Linked DNA regions of Homo sapiens: region 2 is linked to region 1. The links are contacts of gene promoters, found by promoter capture Hi-C in blood cells and fetal thymus (Javierre and others, 2016). All regions are on one chromosome and are shown on one strand. The core of a region is centred on a gene start or on the middle of the fragment in contact, and the rest is flanking DNA. Distances in the headings are between cores, read along the strand shown.

The links. Contacts are between HindIII fragments. The CHiCAGO score rates a contact against its expected background, and 5 or more counts as called.
Region 2: a fragment that was not itself captured here is called in contact with the fragment with the promoter of TUT4 in region 1 in 1 of 17 cell types (neutrophils); the score reaches 6.6 in neutrophils.

Annotation. Positions count from the first base shown.
Region 1 is chr1:52,548,230-52,555,619 of GRCh38, forward strand. It overlaps TUT4 (terminal uridylyl transferase 4), which reads right to left and starts at 4,863. Exons shown (of 30, transcript NM_001009881.3): 1 at 4,702-4,863. It overlaps LOC105378723 (a long non-coding RNA gene), which reads left to right. Exons shown (of 4, transcript XR_007066083.1): 2 at 2,451-2,575; 3 at 3,128-3,177; 4 at 4,012-4,608. RefSeq lists silencers at 4,476-4,805, 4,876-5,005, 5,046-5,155, 5,166-5,565. The HindIII fragment of the contact is 23,021 bases long and covers 1-7,390 here.
Region 2 is chr1:52,680,043-52,687,194 of GRCh38, forward strand. COA7 (cytochrome c oxidase assembly factor 7) reads right to left here. Exons shown (of 3, transcript NM_023077.3): 3 at 4,407-7,152. Among named protein-coding and RNA genes, the nearest start is that of COA7, 15 kb to the right of the region's middle. The HindIII fragment of the contact is 5,380 bases long and covers 1-4,111 here.

The DNA of each region.
Region 1 (7,390 bases), core at 3,613-6,112:
CACTTAATGAACACTTAATGACTGGTCAATTAAATTATTTAAACTATAGTGTTAGTTAAATATTTAATTTAATAATTATATTATTAAACTACACACTGACAAAATGCAATCAGGCTTAGTCATTCTCTATAATTCATACTTTGCATATTTGCAAAATATTTTTAACAACCTATGTGACTACAGAATTTAACTCTCTGTACACAAAATTTTGACACCCTAAACTTGAAGGTACAACACAGTACAGTGGCAAAGAGCTGTGACTCTAGACTCAGACACTTTGAGTTCAAATCCTGACTGCAGCAAACTAGCTATGAGATATTGTCCAAGGTACTCAATCCTTCTACATGGACTTTTCCCATCTATAAATGAGAATAATATAAAAAGGGTTGTTTTGAAGACTAAGTTAACACTTCAAAGATCTTGAGAAAGAAATTAGCTCATAGTAACTATGCAATAAGTTATCTATTATCATTGTAAATCAAATATCCACTTAAAGCAATCAGATTGTTGTGTGGTTAACAAACATACCTATTTCTTTTTAAAAGTACAAGATGCCTTATGTAAAGATTAGGACTTTGCCCATCTATAGTGGTGAACATCAAACTTGCATGAATAGCGTCTCCCTTCTTCCAGCCCATGCTCTTCAATGCCTTAAGCTATTGTTTTCTAGAGCTAAACTAGAAAATAGTCAACTAATCCAAGCCAACAAGTGAAAAAACTTCCTAAGTAGTATAACAAGGTGATCTCCCCCAGAGGTGTTTTCATCCCAAAAGACTTTTCCAAAAAATTAAAAGTTCTTGGACAGTAAGATTTGGATCACAGAATTCTCAAGATAAAAGTCTAGAATATAGGGAGAGGAGAGAAGAGTGGTACGGAAAAGAAGGCTTGCCTATCCACTAAAAACGGGTAAACTCTGTTAGCTAGGAAGCCAAGGAGAAAAAAATACAAAACTAGGAGTCAGAAAACATAGTTCTAATCACAGCTCAACCACTATCTCACTTGGTGATCTCACAAGATAAAAATTCAAACACCTTAATACAACATAAATGGTCCCTCACAATTTGCTACTTCCAATCATTTATCTCACCATTCTATCCATATCAATTCCTACCACACTGAATTTCTCACTCTCCCTCACTCCCCAAGGCTCATTACAATTTATCATCTTTGCATGTTATTCCCTAGGTCTGGAATGACCTCCAACCTCCAGTCCATCTTCCTCTCCACCTAGCAAACTCCTACTCACCCTTCAAGAGCTAGTTTCTTCCCTCTCAACTCCCACAATCTAGTGTGTTGTAATTTACTGTATTATATGTAGACTGATACAAATGCAAATGTTTGATGAAATGAATGTTTAAATGAATGAATGAACAACCTTAGGCAGTTTCCCATTCTAAATAATTGAGAAAATAATACACCTGAAAAGCAACATCACATATACATTATATTAGGAAGAGAGATCTGCTTTGAAATCTAATTCTATGATCTTCAGCAAATCACTAACCTCTGTGACTCAAAGATTCCTCACCTATAAACAGGTTTCAAAGGGCTGTTACACTGAACGAGTGAAAAAAAAATGCATAAACAGTGTCTAGCGCAGTGCCTGGAACAAAACAGGCACTCTAAAAAGTTTTGGTTCCCTTCTCTCTCCCTCAACTCATAATTATAGATATCCAATGAGATGATGTGACATAAAAATAATTTGAACATAAGACACCACACAAATCTCTCACTTAAGGGGGAAAAATCCTAACATTAATCTTTGCATTTATATACCCTTTCTTCTCCTTGGGCCTGTAAGAAATACTCCGGAGGAAAAGTCGGAACCTGCTTTTTCAGAGTGTGTGGTTTATTTGAATATAGTCTGTACATAATAAAATAAAGATTTAAAAAAGGAAAGAAAAATACTCTGCAGAAATGATGGTTTTTAAACATTTCCCCCAAATTATGTAATTATTTAGGATTCTAGAATTAAAACAATTCAGTTAGTACCCAGTAAACAACTCTAATTGCTCTAAGATTAATAACAAAAAGTCTACATATCCTGTTTTAAAGTATGGTGTCCCTTTCCTTTGACTTTTTTAGGTCTTTCTGGAATTGTTCTTTTTTAGAACGTATTTCTATCCTACTGCAGTGGCTTTAACTGAATTTAACATTTTTTAATCAATTCAAGTATTTGCAATTTATTTGAAAAAGGAACACAACTCATTGAGTTCTATTTTGTCAAACAAAATGTTCTGGCATCAACATTAACAGGTAAGTATTGCTTTTTTTTTTTTTTTTTTTTGTTTAAGACAGGGTCTTACTCTGTCGCCCAGGCTGGAGTACAGTGGCGCAACTGTGCCTCACTGCAACCTTGAACTCTGGGCTCAGGCAAACCTCCTACCTCAGCTTCTGGGACTACAGACGCACACCACCACGCCCAGCTAATTTCTTTTATTTTTTGGCAGTGACAAAGTCTCACTATGCTGCTCAGACTGATATCAAACTCCTACGCTCAAGCAATCCTCTCGCCTCCACTTCCCAAAGTGCTGAGATTACAGGCGTGAGTGAGCCACCTGGCCAGGCCCTACAGGTAAGTGTTGGTTATTTTGTTTCTCTGAAACTAGAAACTTTAACAGTGAATAAATTCAAACACCTTTCTTGATCAACAGATCCTGATTTGACATTCTGTAGAGAACACAACATAATTAATGGTACTTATTTTTATGTCAAGATTAACTTTGAGATAAAAAAGAATTCTAATTACTTACTCTAAAATGAATCTGCTGAGAGCTAATAAAAATTCTCTTTAAACAGCTCTTTGTTAATCAGAGAAATTTATAATTATACATTTTGATTCTAAAAGGTCTAAAATTAAAATGTAGACACTGTACTGTTCTAGCTCCAGCAACTAAAAATAAATGTAATTTTAGGTGTCACTTAGAATTTATAAACTTGAACTTATATGCATGACAATATTTGTTAATTTATCTGTACTAACAACTTGGCCTATGACAATGAAAATACTTTAAATTTCTTTTCTGTATTTAAATGTTTGCTGGATTTAAAACATCAAATGTCATTAACTTTCACTTCCATTTCTGAATTATTTTAAGAAAACTTCATTTTTCATTTTCCACACTAGCCAAGTGAAAAACTGCAAGCAGCAGAAAAATTTATCTAAGAGTTTTAAAAGTAAGTTTCTTTTGTTTATATTAAATATAAATATTTTTAAAGCATAAAACGACTTAAAATTCTTATCTTCCCCAAAGTATATGGTTTCTAAGAAGCAATCTTTAAAAATTTGTTTATAAAAGCAACATAGCACACTAGACACTAATGAGTTATCTTAAGCACAGCTTTTTAAGAGAATCAATATTTCATTTTACCAGTTGTGACTAATCAGTACTACGATGCAGTGTAGTGACATACATGAGTTCTAAGCCTAAAGAAAATTTCAGCGCGCTCGCGCGCGCACACACACACATACACACACACACACAAAGTCGGCTTTTCTTTTTAAACCATCCCACAATTCAACACCTCTCGGTGGTATTCTCTGAATTATCATATCTGGCTGGGATTATCCAATTTTATTAGCTAACAGTTCTCATTACTTTAAAAACAGAAACAGGATATGTTCTGTTTCATCAAGTGCTACAAACATTTCGCTGCTGTAAGACTGGAGGGAAAAAATCTTTGGAAATAAAAGGCCATCTGATCCACTCGGGCTAATTACTAAATGCATGCCAACAATACACAATTCGAATTGCATTTCTGGACACAATTTAAGATCACGATAGGGCAGGTCAAATGTGTAAGGAACTACTACTTCTATCAAAATGAAGAAGCAGATATACGGTATCTAAGATCTCACGCAAAATTCATCTAAGACTTCGAAATCTTCTGAAAAGAAAATGTGTAATCAACGTTGTTAATACAACAGTAATTCATCCCATTCAAGTACGACTAGAAATCCCGCTGATGTGCTTCTTTCAGGTCTAAACATCTCATTCTTTCGCAATCCAGATACCAACAGGAGTCTGAAACCCTTCGCAGAGGCGTGCAACACACTAGGAGAGCGCTATCTGTTTACAAATACGAATCTCAGTTACCCACGTCAAAACCGCGCATTACCACCTTTCGACTGGGGGGCGGGGGAGAGAGAAGGCGGGCGAGCAAGAAACAAAATCCACACAGACACCTCTGCCTTCTCCCTACAAGGACGAGCCCGGGGAAACATTCAGTATGTATTATATGCGTGTATACATTTATATACATTATGTAGTCACCTATGTCTAAGCAAGGGTGAAAGAAAAAGGTACACATGACAGGGAATCGTAACTGGACCCAACAGAAATGTTCAAACCAATCCCGTTAACTCAAAATCCGCCCCGCTGGTCTACAACAGGTTTCGGTCCGGGACCGGGAGCCCCAGCCACAGTGTGGAGTTCGTCCCCAAAGCGCCCCAATGCCCTCCTCAGGCCGCCCAGGCCGCCGTCCCCACCTCCCTTATCTCAGCCTTCCCCTGGGACACCCGAAGCCCGTTCCAGGAAAGAAAGAAGTGTCAGGCCCCCAGGGGGCGGCTGAGACGCTCTCAGGCCAGGCCCCCGACACCTGCGAAGCGCGGCACCTGGGGAGGGCGAACCGGGGGCCGCCCGGCCTTCCCGAGCACACCCCCTCGGTACCCGACGCTGCCCCGCGGCCGGAACCTCGTACCTGCGAGGCCCGCGAGCTACAGGCGCGCGCGACGCCTCCTCATCTCAGTGGCTCCTGCTCTCCCTCCGCCTCCTGCTGCCGCCGCCGTCGCCGCTGCCGCCGCTGGAGGCCGGGACACGACTAGCTCAGGACTCCACCGCCATGTCCGCCGCGCCGCGAACTGCATTGTGGGGGGGAAGGGATGGGGAGGGGGAGGAGGAGGGAGAGGGAGAGGGAGAGAAAGAGGAGGACCCGCTGAGGGGAGGGGGCGAGGGAGAGCGGTTGCCGGGGGAGAGGGGGAGGGGAGAGGACAGAGCCTGTAATGGGGTCCTGGCCCGGGAGAGGAGGAGCTACGCGCAGAGGGAAGGGTTCAGGGGTGCCCCCTCCCTTCGTTCGGGGGGCCCCACAGGCACCGTTTACACCGGGGCGGGGGAGGGGGGAAACAGCACTGGGGGGAGGGGTCTCGTGGTGGCCGCGAAGAAACAATGGGGAGAAGGCCGAGGTAGGAGGATCGCGCACTCACACCCACGCGGAGGGAAGGGAGCGCGCGAGAGACACTCGTTAGCTCGCGAGGAGGGGGCGGGCCGCTGGCAGAGGGGAGGAGGGAGCCACCCGGGGCTCGCGGGCAGGGGCGGGGCCGCCGAGCGGAGGTCGCGAGGTCCCGCAGCCCGCCTGGGCGCCGCGGGTTAGCCGCGCTGATTCGCCCGCTTGCCGGAGTGGGTGGGGGTGGCGGGCGCCCCAGTGCTGCCCCAGTCTGGTTCCTAGTCTCTGCCGAGGCCCCCGAGCTGGAAGCCGAGCCCGAGGGCCGCCTCGGCGCCTCGCTCCCAAGGCTGCTCCCCCTGGGGAGGAAGGCCGGCCTGGAATGGGTACCCTCTGGCCTGGCACTCGGACTGGGCGTGGCCCGAGCCTCGGCGGACCCTCGGAAGCCCAAGCGGGCTTCGGAGCAACGGTAGGGAGCGGGGCAGAGGAAGCCGCCAGGGTCGACCCCCACCCACTCACCACGGCCTCCAGCCCACCGCAGCTGGACCTTTTTTCCTTTGAAAAGGCAGGCAGTTCAGGAATGAAGGAGCTCGAAGAGAAATCTCTGGAGCACTCCATCTCCCACCCCCAAAAGAGGTTTTAGAAATCATTTCTTTAGCTGCAGGCGGGCATAAAACCATCTACCATCAATGGGCCCCCTCATCCCCTTGCTTTTAACGTATTACATTCCTCTACATAATTATTTAAAGTCACGGGCGGAACGGACTTAAGGTTTTGTTAGTTTTGTTTTTTGTTGTTTTTTTTTAAGACCCCAGCCTCAGAGATTATTTAGCCAATCTCTGACCTCAAAGCTGGACAAAGCACACAACCTCTGTGCTCTGTGCCCAGTCCTTTGAGTTTGACACATGCTAGGCAGGAAAAAGGTATGAAAAGAGTGGACGTAGAGGTGAAGGGAAGATGTTAAATCTTAAGTATTTACAAGATAGTGCCTTATAAATTTTCTTATAATGTGACTCAGGCTGGGACTGGTTAGAGGTCACAGAGGGACGCTCCACTTCACGATAGCCCTGTGAGTTACGTACTGTTGCTCTCATTTACGGATGAAAAAACTAGGGTTCAGAGTTAGTGCATTTTACCCCAATCTGGCTGATGCTACAAGGCCCAGGTATAATGGATAGAGGACTGGATTTCAAGTCAAAAGAGCCCTACCTGGTTTTGGCGTTTATCAACATGATGCCTTTGAGCAAATGTACCCTCTTGAGTTTCCTCATCTGCAAATTCTTAATCTGTATCCCTGCTTCGCTTGACTAGCCTGGAAACAAAGAAAAAATCCCTACTTCACCCGGCTGAAAGCCTAAAGCCTATAGAGACACTAAGAAGATACCGACATGCCCTTCAATTCAGTGATAGCAGTGTCCTTAGAACAAGTTCAATTGAGTAAACATTTCCTAATTACTTAAGAGCAAAGCGTTGTTAGGTGCCTAGGGAAACAAAGACAAATCATTGCTTCCTGTCTCCAAAAAGTTCCCCATTGAGCAAGCAGGTGAGCTACAATAAAAGCAACAGGTCTTATTAACAAAGGGCTGGGCAAATCCAGAGGAGAGTGTGATAAATTCCACTTTGGTGAGACTTCCGTGGAAGAACTAAAAGCTGGACCTTGAAGATCTGTCTGCTGTGTGCCAGACACATGTCTGTGATTCAGAGGGCAGCATTGACTCTGGAGTGTGCAGAAGATAATGAATCTGGAAAAGAAAACTGGGGCCAGACTGAAAATTTCAGTGCCTCTCTGCCCTTATCCCCTCCAGATACTCTCTTCTACTACCTTGCTTATTCCCCAAGACCCAGCTCAACCTCTACCTTCTTTATTAAATCTTCCTGATTACCACCCCTCCTCTGCACTCCACTGAATGTGATCCCTCTATTCTCTGAATTCCGTGACCCCAATAGATTGTACACTTCAGCACAGATACTTACAAGGTATTCCTTCTGATACCTACATAGTTGTCGAGTTGAAAATTTTGACAACTATAATTTTATCATCACAGCTAGAGCAAGTATGGTTCTGACACAAAGAATAAGGAAATTTATGGAGTATAAGGTTTAATTCATGCCCAGGGTCATACAGTAAGTCACAGGCTGGACTAGAATACCAGCCCTGTATTCTTCCCATTGAACCACAGGTTTTTGAGATATAAAATGGTAAATGTCTGATTTCTATGTAAAAATCCTC
Region 2 (7,152 bases), core at 172-2,671, 130 kb after region 1:
TACTCGGGAGGCTGAGGCAGGAGAATGGGAGGCGGAGCTTGCAGCTTGCAGTGAGCCAAGATCGAGCCACTGCACTCCAGCCTGGGTGACAGAGCGAGACTCTGTCTCAAAAAAAAAAAAAAAAAGGAATATAACATTACTATTTTTAAATGTATATATTTCTCATTCTTTGTTAGGTGTCCTAAATATACATGCGTATTCTGCCTTTGACTAATCCAGAATTGTCCACATCTGTAGGATCTGAAGTCTAGGCATTTTCCCTCTGCCACGCTGCCCTTCATACAATTTTTCAAGCAACTTCATAAAACAAATAAAAATGCTATTTATTTATAAAACTTAAAAAATCACCCAACAGTTCAGAGTTCTTGTCCCCATCCCCACACCACAGGCTCCAAATCAATATGAATAGCTCCACTGTCCACCTAGATGCCCAAGCTAAACCTGTTTTGGTTTATATTTTTCAACCTCATGCTCAACCCCACCTTCTTCCCACCCCCGCATGGCTCAATTTTGCTTATTCAGCTGTCTGGCCTCTCACCTGTGCTCCCTTCCTTGCTTGACAGGCCTTAGCTCAGGCCCCACCATGTCTCACCTTGACATCTGCAGCCATCTCCTCATTGGTCTTCCTGCCTCCAGTCTTTCCCCCGTGATTCATTTTCTGCACTGGGGATGATCTTTCTAATTTCCAAACCTGATCAAAACCCTTTCGTGACTCTGCATTACCCACAAGATAAAAGCCAAATCTCTATACCCTCAGGTTTTCCCTTCCCTCTCTGGGACTCTTCCTTTCCTTCCTCACAGTACTGAGCACCATACTGTCAGATTTTAGTGAGAGCATTGGCCGGGCAGAGCGGTTCACGCCTGTAATCCCAGCACTTTGGGAGGGAGAGGCAGGCAGATCATCTGAGGTTGGAAGTTCAAGACCAGCCTGGCCAACATAGTGAAATGGTGAAACCCATCTCTACTAAAAAATACAAAAATTAGCTGGGCGTGGTGGCCTGTAATCCCAGCTACTCAGGAGCCTGAGGCAGGAGAATCTCTCAAACCCGGGAGGCAGAGGTTGCAGTGAGCCAAGATCGCACCACTGCACTCCAGCCTGGGCAACAGAGTGAGACTGTGTCTCAAAAAAAAAAAAAAAGATTTTAGTGAGAACACAAACCGCCAGAGTCAATTATGAACCGTCTTTCCCATTAGACAGACCATCAGGCCAGCTCTGAATGTCCTGTATCCAGCCCAAGCCTAGCATGGAGGAAAAACGTAGGAAATAGTTGTTAATGATGATCCAATGCCTGCTGGCTAGAAGACACAGTAATGATACTGCTTGCTGTGACCAGAGTCTGAAAAGCGATTTTCAAACCTTGCCTCAAAGGCTGCATTAAAGTGAGAAACTTATCCATGCTGGCTCTTACCAACCTACTGCTTCCCACAGTAGCCTGGGTATGAAATGGCCTTGGACCATTCTGAACAGTAAATTATTATTCTTTGCATTTTAATAACTTTAGGGAAATATAACATTTTGACACAGTTAATGCTCACTCTATTGTTCCCTGCCCCACTAAGTATGTGACTCAGGAAGGCAAGTACCAGAAGTCCCAGGTAGGAACTCGTCCATAAAAAAAAAAAAAAAGGCTGGGTGTAGTGGCTCACGCCTGTAATCCCAGCACTTTGGGAGGCCGAGACAGGTGGATCATCTGAGGTCGGGAGTTCGAGACCAGCCTGGCCAACATGGAGAAACCCTGTCTCTACTAAAAATACAAAATTAGCCGGGTGTGGTAGCACATGCCTGTAATCCCAGCTACTCAGGAGGCTGAGGCAGGAGAATTGCTTGCACCCGGGAGGCGGAGGTTGCGGTGAGCTGAGATCATGCCATTGCACTCCAGCCTGGGCAACAAGAGTGAAGTTCCATCTCAAAAAAAAAATCCAGTACATCTGCCACCCAAAAATCAAACTTAGTTCTTCAAAATTACAAAACCCAGTGGGGCAAGTGGCTCATGTCTGTAATCCTAGCATGTTGGGAGGCTGAGGCAGGAGGATCGCTTGAGCCCAGGAGTTTGAGACCAGCCTGGGCAACACAGCGAGACCCCATATCTACAAAAAACATGAAAACTAACTGGGCATGGTGTCACGCACATGTAGTCCCTAGCTACTTGGGAGACTGAGGTAGGAGGATCACCTGAGCCCAGGAGGTTGAGGCTGCAGTGAGCTATGATTGCACCACTGCACTCCAGCCTAGGTGACACAGAGAGACCCTATCTCAAAAAGAAAAAAAAAAATTACAAAACCTGTTAGTTGAAAAGATATGATTCTTGGCAGGGCACAGTGGCTCATGCCTGTAATCCTAGCACTTTGGGAGGCCAAGGTGGGTGGATCAGCTGAGGTCAGGAGTTAGAGACCAGCCTGATCAACATGGTGAAACCCCATTTCTACTAAAAATACAAAAAATAGCCGGCTGTGGTGGCGCTCGCCTGTAGTCCCAGCTACTCAAGAGGCTGAGGCTGGGGAATCACTTGAACCTGGGAGGTGGAGGTTGCAGTGAGCTGAGATCACGTCACTGCACTCCAGCCTGGGTGACACCATCTCAAAAAAAAAAAAAAAAAAAAAAAGATATGATTCTTTAAAAAAATGGTTAAATAGTGAGAACGCTATTGTGCCAAAGAATGCCCATAGGTGATAAAAGAATAGTGAGGGGTGATGGTTTCTTCTGTTTCAAATTGCATTTTATGAGAACATACTAATTTTATAATAAAAAAACTTCAAACCTTGCATTTTTAAAAAGTCAATATGTTTTTTTTTTAAATTGTGGTAAAACATAAAATTTACCATGTTAACCTCTTTTTTTTTTTTTTTTTTTTTTTTTTTTGAGATGGAGTCTCACTCTGTTGCCTAGGCTGGAGTGAAGTGGTGCAATCTCAGCTCACTGCAACCTCCACCTCCCAGGTTCAAGTGATTCTCGTGCCTCAGCCTCCTGAGTCGTTGGGACTACAGGCGCATGCCACCACGCCCAGCTAATTTTTGTATCTTTAGTAGAGAGAGGGTTTCACCATGTAAGCCAGGCTGGGTTAACCATTTTTAAACATATAGTTCAGTAGTGTTAAGTATATTCACATTTGATGTGTAACAATCTCCATTATTTTTTCATCTTACAAATTTGAAACTCTTTACCTATTAAACAACCCATTTTGGCCAGGCATGGTGGCTCACACCTATAATCCCAGAACTTTGGGAGGCCGAGGCGGAAAGATCACTTGAGCTCAGGAGTTTAAGACCAGCCTGGGCAATATGGCAAAACCTCGTCTCTACAAAAAATACAAAAACTAGCTGGGCGTGGTGGTGTGTACCTGTAGTCCCAGCTACTTGGGAAGCTGAGGTGGAAGGATGACCTGAGCCCAGGAGTTAGAGGCTGCAGTGAGCTATGATAGTGCCACTGCACTCCAGCCTAGGCGACAGAGCAAGAGCCTATCTCAAAACAAAAACAAAAACAAAAAACTCATTTCCTCCTCACCCCAGCCCCTGGCAGCCACCATTTTACTTTCTGTTTCTGAGTTTATATACAACTCATACCCAAGTTTAGATGCCTCATATACAGCATGTCTTTTTGTGACTGGCTTATACAGCATGTCTTTTTGTGACTCTCTTAGCACGATGTCCTCAAGATTCAGCCATGTTTTGTGGCATGTGTCAGAATTTCCTTCCTTTTCAAGGCTGAATAATATTCCATTGCATGTACATCTCGCCTTTTGTGTATTCATTCATCTGCTGATGGGCATTTGGGTTCCTTCTACCCTTTGGTTACTATGAATAGTGCTGCTAAGAATATGGGTATAGATACCTCTTGGAGACCCTGCTTTCAATTCTTTTGGATATTAATAGTTTGGATACTTGTCCCCCAAATCTCACGTTGAAATTTAATCCCCAATGTTGGAGGTGGAGCTTGGTGGGAGGTGATTGGATCATGGGGAGGATTTCTCATGAATGGTTTAGGACCCTCCCCTTGGTGCTGTCCTCAGGAGATTTGTGTGTGGTATCTCCCCTTGCTCACTCTCTTGCTCCTGCTCTTGCCTTCTCACCATGTGATACACTGACTCCCCCTGTGCCTTCCACCATGACTGTAAGCTTCTGAGGCCTCACCAGAAGCCAATAGGATGCACAGCACCATGCTTCCTGAGCCAATTAAACTTTTCTTTATAAATTACCCAGTCTCAGGTATTTCTTTATAGCAATGCAAGAATGGCCTAACACAGATATGTACCCAGAAGTGGAATGGCTGGATCAAACGGCAATTCTGTTTTTCATTTTGGGGGAGCTGCACCAGTTCACAGGGTTCTAATTTCTCTGTATCCTTGACAACACTTACTTTGTTTTGGTGTTTAATAGTAGCCATCCTAATGGGATATGAGGCAATATCATTGTGGTTTTAATAGACTTTATATTTTAGAGCAATTTTAGGTTTACAGCAAAATTGAGAGGGTACAGAGATTTCCCATATAGTTGTTGTCCCCACACATGCATAGTCTCCACCATTTTCAACATCTCCCACCAAAGAGGTACATTTGCAGTAATTGATGAACCTACACTGACACATCATTATCACTCAAAGTCCACAGTTTACATTAGGGTTCACTCTTGGTGTTGTACATTTTAGGGGGTTGGACATATGTACAATGACAGGTATTTATAATTATAGTATCATACAGAGTAGTTTCGCTGCCCTAAAAATCTTCTGTGCTCCAATTATTCCTCCCTCCCCTCCCCCACCCACTGCTTTTTACTGTCTCCATAGTTTTGCCTTTTCCAGAATACATCCCAGTGTCATATAGTTGGCATCATTTAATATGAAGCCTTTTCAGACTGGCTTCATTTAGTAGCATTCATTTAAGTTCCTCTGTGACTTCTTATAGCTTGATAACTCATAATTTGTCATAGCTTGATTTAAGCACTGAATAATGACTACATGCACCACAATTTATTTACCCATTTACCTACTGAAAGACATTTTGGGTTGAGTTTTGGCAATTATAGATAAAGCTGCTATAAACATCCATGTGCTGGTTTTTGTGTGGACATGTTTTCAGTTCCTTCAGGTAAATACTAAAGAGCAAGATTGCTGGATCACATGGTAAGAGCTTACCTAGTTTTTGTAAGAAACTGCTTAACTGTCTTCCAAAGTGGCTGTGCCATCTTGCGTTCCCACCAGCAAGGAATAAGAGTTCTGGTTGCTCCAACTTTCCCAGCATTTCATGCTGTCGGTGCTTTGGATTTTGGCCATTCTAATAGTTGTATAGTGGTCTGTTGTTCTAACTTGCATTTTCCTGATGACATGTTATATGGAACATCTTTTCATATGCTTATTTGCCACCTGTCTATCTTCTTTGCTGAGATATGTTAAGGGTTTTGGCCTGTTTTTAATCAGGTTGTTTTCTTACTGTTGAATTTTAAGAGTTCATTGTGGTTTTTGATTTACATTTCCCTAATTAGTGATGTTGAACATATTTTCATGTTTTTTGACCTACAGTTTTGTGTGTGTGTGTGTGTGTGTTTTTTTGAGACAGAGTCTCACTCTGTTACCTGGCTGGAGTGCAATGGCATGGTCTTGGCTCACTGCAACCTCCACCTCCTGGGTTCAAGCGATTCTCCTGCCTCAGCCTCCTGAATAGCTGGGACAACAGGTGCCCACCACCACACCCAGATAATTTTTGTATTTTTAGTAGATACGAGGTTTCACTATGTTGGCCAGGCTGTTCTCGAAATCCTGACCTCGTGATCCGCCTGCCTCGGCCTCCCAAAGTGCTGGGATTGCAAGCGTGAGCCACTGCACCTGGCCTAGTTTTGTTTTTGTTTTTGAGACAGAGTCTTGCTGTGTTGCCCAGGCTGGAGTGCAGTGGCACAGTCTCAGTTTACTGCAACCTCTGCCTCCCAGGTTCAAGTGATTCTCCTGCCTCAGCCTCCGAAGTAGCTGGGATTACAGGTATGCATCACCACGCCCAGCTAATTTTTATATTTTTAGTAGAGAAAGGGGTTTCGTCATGTTGGCCAGGCTGATCTCGAACTCCTGACCTCAAGTGATCCACCTGCCTTGGCCTCCCAAAATGCTAGGATTACAGGCATGAGCCACCACGCCTGGCCTGACCTAGTTTAAGCACACCAAAAGCTACTTTACATTTTTAAAAAGTGAATTTGATGTCTTTTGAAATCTCCTCTGTGCACTTGGGGAAGTCCCTGTCCTCTATCAACTTGAGAGGCTGGCTGCTGTGCTCACAAGCCTTCATTTACACAGCAAGCCTTCCTTTCAGGACGGCTGCAAAACGGAAGCCTAAAACAGTAGATGGTGACAGAATGGTATTGTTACCAGCAGGGAAATGGCAAGCTCGCCCCCTGGTGACAAGCTGGGGAGACAACAGAAAAAGCAAATTTTTTTTTTTTTTTGAGACGGAGTCTCACTCTATCGCCCAGGCTGGAGGGCAGTGGCGCAATCTCAGCTCACTGCAAGCTCCGCCTCCCGGGTTCAAGCAATTCTCCTGCCTCAGCCTCCCCAGTAGCTGGGACTACAGGCGCCTGCCACCACGCCCGGCTAATTTTTTGTATTTTTTAGTAGAGATGGGGTTTCCCCGTGTTAGCCAGGATGGTCATGATCTCCTGATCTCGTGATCCACCCGCCTTGGCCACCCAAAGTGCTGGGGTTACAGGCGTGAGCCACCGTGCCCGGCCACAAATGTTCTTAAAAGGCACAACCACCACAAAGAACATACTCTCTACGGTACCTGGAATCTGGAAAGAACACTAATTAACACAAACCGTAGGTCACTCAAAATTGTTCATTCACAGGGACAGTTAAAAAGGCTCAGTTCCAGGGGACAAATGTGTCACAAAGTCCTTGCTTACAAACTCCTAGCTGAAGCTGCCTTGGGAAGAATCTGCTCCCTCAGCATGATGGGCAGTGCCAGGCGACTACACTGGAGGTGCTAATTTTTAACTGCCAATGTCTCTTCTAGACGATGGCAGGCTGATGTTTCATCTTCTTCAGCAACCCTGAAGCATAACAGCCTTTAAGCTGTATGTTGCACGTCCCTCTTGATCTCTGTGAATTTACTGAAAGATGTGACTCTAAAGGCAAAACGAAGCCCACACCAATGATTATGTAAGTCAGAGGGTGGT